Linked DNA regions of Homo sapiens: region 1 is linked to region 2. Evidence: promoter capture Hi-C in human tissues and cell types (Jung and others, 2019). All regions are on one chromosome and are shown on one strand. Each heading gives the region's core, a stretch centred on a gene start or on the middle of the fragment in contact. The rest is flanking DNA. Distances are from core to core; before and after follow the strand shown.

The links. The method cuts DNA at HindIII sites, captures the fragments that hold promoters and counts their contacts. A contact is called where the count stands out against the background at its distance.
Region 1: the fragment with the promoter of RNASE2 here is called in contact with the fragment with the promoter of CCNB1IP1 in region 2 in 1 of the 25 tissues and cell types used here (hippocampus).

The regions. Positions count from the first base shown.
Region 1 is chr14:20,954,237-20,956,996 of GRCh38, forward strand. It overlaps RNASE2 (ribonuclease A family member 2), which reads left to right and starts at 1,251. Exons shown (of 2, transcript NM_002934.3): 1 at 1,251-1,300; 2 at 1,531-2,200. The coding sequence starts at 1,536. The coding sequence ends at 2,021. The HindIII fragment of the contact is 15,094 bases long and covers 1-2,760 here.
Region 2 is chr14:20,332,002-20,334,817 of GRCh38, forward strand. It overlaps CCNB1IP1 (cyclin B1 interacting protein 1), which reads right to left and starts at 1,278. Exons shown (of 7, transcript NM_021178.5): 1 at 1,253-1,278. RefSeq lists an enhancer at 1,048-1,357. The HindIII fragment of the contact is 13,028 bases long and covers 1-2,816 here.

The DNA.
Region 1 (2,760 bases), core at 1-2,500, 620 kb after region 2:
AACATCTCTTAGTACTCAGGTCTTACCACTGCAATTCACTTCCCACCTCTGTACAATTTCCCCACATCATCCCCTGTGCCCAGAATGCTCATCTCTTCCCTAAAGTCCCTGAAAACTCCCTGCTTATCTTTTAGGGCCCTGCTGAAATCAAACTTTTTTTTTTGAAGTCTTCCTTGTCCCTCAAGCCAAGTGATTTCCTTCACCCTCGGCGTCCCCATGAAACCATGTTCACACAAGTGTAATACAATTATGTGTCTACAATTACTTTCCTGTATGTCTCTGAGGGCCAAGAATAAATGTATGCTTTGTGTATCAAACTGTACACTTGACCTCTATACTTTCAGGAATACAGTGCTCTGTCCTTAAATGTTCATTTGTAAATACAGAACCATTTTCTTGTTAATATCACAAAATGAAACTTACCAGGAAGATGAATGACAACCCCAGAACACAGTGTTTTGTAGAAAATACCATAGGCTGAAAAGATCACAGGAATACCGAGTGCTAGGTTGGAATCTTTCATGACACCAAATGTTCATTCATTCTCTGCCAGACTTTACAACTGTCCTCGGTGTGTTTTTAGGTTGTGTAACTTTACACAAAGTGGAAGCAATAATCAGGGCAAGACTTAAGAGAAAGTGGATCCAATGCAAGAGGAGTAAAGAAAAAAATCCCTCAAGTATGTGTAGCAGATTGTTTTAATTATCTACAGAATCTTGTGCCCTAAGAAATTAATAGCTCAAGTTTCCAGCAAGAGTGGTGGATGAGATGGAGAGCATTTGTGTGAGAGAGAACCAAGGATATTACTAAAAATGAAAGGGAAGCTGGGTTTCTCCTGGGCAAACAGCCCTCAGTGGCTCTATTTGTTCTAACTACTATGCCTGCCTTCATGTACTTTGGTCATTTAGTGGCCTGCCAGAGGACAGTTATAAAATCTGTGGTCATTCTGCAGGCAGCATATAGTTTTCATCCAGAGTTTGGATCTAACCAGCAAAACTCTGTCTTACACAGGATGACTTGGAATTAGAGTCCTTATAGCAGAAAGAGCAGCAGGGCTGTCCTTGGGTATCCGTTGCTCAGCCAAGTCATCAAATAAAAAGGATGATTGCACAAGTGGACTATGTACCAATCTGTGGGTTTCTGCATGGCCAAGAGCCAGACCCTCCCTCTGGGCTCTGCTGGCCCAACCCACCAAGGGATGCTTTATTTAAACAGTTCCAAGTAGGGGAGACCAGCTGCCCCTGAACCCCAGAACAACCAGCTGGATCAGTTCTCACAGGAGCTACAGCGCGGAGACTGGGTAAGTCAACGATCCCCAGAGCTGGGACAGAAGGGGCAGCAATGGGGCAGCAACTGAGGGAGAAGAGAGCTGACGTTAGTGCTTAGGAGACGTTGCACACTTTGCAGACAGGAAGTAAAGGAAATGGGACCCCAGAGTGGCCGCAGAGGGGCCTGTGGGGTAAGACACTACAGTGTGTGTCATAACCAAGACCCGATCAGGGAGTAGTTACTTCTCTTCTTTTCTTACAGGAAACATGGTTCCAAAACTGTTCACTTCCCAAATTTGTCTGCTTCTTCTGTTGGGGCTTCTGGCTGTGGAGGGCTCACTCCATGTCAAACCTCCACAGTTTACCTGGGCTCAATGGTTTGAAACCCAGCACATCAATATGACCTCCCAGCAATGCACCAATGCAATGCAGGTCATTAACAATTATCAACGGCGATGCAAAAACCAAAATACTTTCCTTCTTACAACTTTTGCTAACGTAGTTAATGTTTGTGGTAACCCAAATATGACCTGTCCTAGTAACAAAACTCGCAAAAATTGTCACCACAGTGGAAGCCAGGTGCCTTTAATCCACTGTAACCTCACAACTCCAAGTCCACAGAATATTTCAAACTGCAGGTATGCGCAGACACCAGCAAACATGTTCTATATAGTTGCATGTGACAACAGAGATCAACGACGAGACCCTCCACAGTATCCGGTGGTTCCAGTTCACCTGGATAGAATCATCTAAGCTCCTGTATCAGCACTCCTCATCATCACTCATCTGCCAAGCTCCTCAATCATAGCCAAGATCCCATCTCTCCATATACTTTGGGTATCAGCATCTGTCCTCATCAGTCTCCATACCCCTTCAGCTTTCCTGAGCTGAAGTGCCTTGTGAACCCTGCAATAAACTGCTTTGCAAATTCATCTGAAAGTGTCTGTGTGTCTTCATTAGCCGCTCTGCTGTCATTTAGTGACAATCTACTCTAGAGATTTTTCTTCCTCTAACCTGAGACTTCCGGGAAACAGAGAGATTTGAAGATAAGAGACGCTTTCTGTCATGAAACAGCACAGTCTTATCCCTCTCCCTGCTTTAGGCTGAGAAGCTGAGGTCTCAACCGATATCTAGCAACTGTCGAAGACTCTTGCTTTGATCAAGCTTTAGTCATCTCCTCTAAACCCTCTTCACAACTAGGTCATCCTGTTGGGCTTCCTAGTCCTTCCTTGTAGAGTCATTTGTATTTATTTTTTATTTTATTTTATTTTATTTTATTTTATTTTATTTTATTTTATTTATTTTATTTTTTGAGACAGAGTCCCGCTCTGTCGCCCAGACTGGAGTGCGTGGCGAGATCTCAGCTCACTGCAAACTCCACCTCCCAGGTTCAAGCTATTCTCCTTCCTCCGCCTCCCGAGTAGCTGGGATTACAGTTATGCACCATCATACCCAGCCAATTTTTGTAATTTTTAGAGAGGGGGTTTCAAGA
Region 2 (2,816 bases), core at 28-2,527:
ATACATATATATATATATATATATATTTTTTTTTTTTTTTTTTTTTTTTTGAGACAGAGTTTCGCTCTTGTTGCCCAGGCTGGAGTGCAATGGCGCGATCTCGGCTCACCGCAACCTCCACCTCCCGGGTTCAAGCGATTCTCCTGCCTCAGCCTCCCGAGTAGCTGGGATTACAGGCATGCGCCGCCATGCCCCAAAAAATAAATTTTAACAATGCTTGAGAATTATAAAAATTATGGGAGGCCTACAAATACCTATTACTACATTCGATTAACTGGTTTATTATTTGTCTTTCTCACACTTTCTGCCTATAAGAATATCCAACACAAACATCACATTAAAATTAACATGTACCAAAAGAAAGGAATTCAGTGAAATGACATTGAAGGTCACTAAGCAAACTTTTTATGAGAAAACAGATATCCAAAATACTTGCTGTAAATAAATAAGTACTGCTTACTTCTAAAGGTACCTAACATTTATTACACACCAACTAGAGCCTAGTTTTTATATATTTTATCTGATCTTGGAAAGCTAAGCCTCGGAATGGCTCACTGCTTCTCCCAAGGTCACCAGAGCTGTAAACTGTGGCGCTGGAATTTAAATCTAGAGGCTTGCCCTGAACTAAGGTCCCTAATCTTTTTCCATAGCTTTTAAGGACACAATCACCACAGTGGCAACATTAAAAATTAGGAGCTCCTTTTAAGGCTTATCTGTCTTCAGAGTTTGCTGCCCAGGTTCACCAAGAAAGCCGAAATGATCTGAGCGAAGGCCAGGAGAAAGACAAGGTACGCTGCAGCTTCCACAAACCCAGTAAGGACCTGGGCCCTCTAGACACTCACCGGAGAATTAAACTCTACTGAGCTGAACGCCTTCTCCCGAAATCTGACCTCACCCAGGGAGATATAAATCAAAACAGCATTAGGATGATAATATCTTTCCCGCCAAGCAAAATGAAGCCGGCGTTTTCCAAGAACACACGCACTGTGCACATGAAGCACAGTCTATTGTTCCTGGGTCACCAGGACTCGGAGACGGAAGGCAAACCCAGTACTGCAGAGGCCCACGTGGAAACAAGCCAGGAAGAGCATTTCACTGCCTTCTCCCAACCTCCACACAGCCGAAATTAATCTCCTTGCGACTCACACACACTCCTATGCCGACTTGAAATAAAGGCCTGCCACCTGGGTATATAACTCAAATGGAAGAGAAATTCAAAACAATTAGAGAGCAAAATTAAGCGCACACTCACCAGCCCACCAAAACGGAGAGGGAAAGAAAGTGGAGAGACAGGAAGTCGCCTTGGGAAGTGTCTTCAGAACCTGATTGGCTAATGAGTTCAAGAGGATTCCCTCCTCCTTTACCTTAAAAGGTGCTGAAATGACGTAACCCACTCCACCCCTCTTTATGGACCAGTGATGCTTCTTGCACTATTTTTGGAGTGAACTTCTTAAACCGAGTTTCCTTTTGAGTTAATGTACTTAGGCAAAAACAGGCTAATTTAAGCTATTTATACACGTTGTTGTTTGCGTGGGCCTACTGCATTCTATTCTAAAGAATTTTCATCCCTTAAGGGTAATTTCTTATCCTTTGTGACCTCAACATGCTTAACTTATGCTAGGCAACAGATTCCATTATAAACAGTCTAGATCGATTCAAGTTAAAATTTACCTTCATTTTTTCCCCCCAGATCCAAAGCTGGCCTGATAAAATTTACCTTCAGGTAATCTTTGAACTAACAGGCTTAGTAGATAAAAGGTAGGTGGGTTAAGTGTTTTAGGCTTCAAATAAAATTTAGCTGATTTTGAATCTGAACCTTGCCACTTATTTGCACACATCTAAGCCTCAGTTCCAACTATAAAAAGAGGGAAAAAAGATGAAATCTTCCTACTCTGATGGTTATGAGGATTAAGTAAAATAATTTATATAATGTACTCAGTACAATGCCCGGTACACAGTACTCAACAATGTTAGCTGTTATTATTGTTATTACATATTTCTTGTTAGATTTATATTCCCAAGTAGACTATAAACAACTGGAGATCAAAGTGTACGTTTTACACATCTCCAGACAAAAACAATGACTTTCAATGCTGAGGACATAATTGATTAATCAATTATTTTGACTCCTCACATCGCCCTCCAGTTAAAGTATAGGTTCTTACTCTGTTAAATTTTTTTTTTTTTTGAAACAGGGTCTCACTTCGTGTCCCAGGCTGGAGTGCAGTGGTGAAATCTCGACTCACTGTAGCCTTGACCTCCCAGGTTCAAGCGATCTCCTGCCTCAGTAAGTAGCTGGGACTACAGGCGTGCACCATCACACCCAGCTAATTTTTGTATTTTTTTGTAGAGATGGGGTTTCGCCATGTTGCCCAAGCTGAAAGATTTCTTTTTAAGCCATAATTAGAGGACTCCCCGGCACAATATTCATCATTATTCTTAATAAATACTATTATAGTAATAGGGAATATATATACAAGTATGTGTTATATGTACAAATATACATGTAATGTGCAAATGTTTGAAGTATAAAGATTCAAGTTATATGGAGAAATGATACAACTCTAACTCATAGTAGTTCTCATTTTTTAATCATTTCATCCTATCCACCCTGCTTCCACCTTACTAGAAATTACCTATTCCAATCCACTTTAGAGTTTACCTGCCCCAAATTTCCCAACATTTAGCATCAAATGCTAATTTGTTATTTCATAATTGATTTATTGTAACTTCTAGAGTCAAAACATTTCTTGAATGTTTACTATAAATATTCAAGAAATGTAATATTCATTACCTTGTTTAATCTTCACATTAAC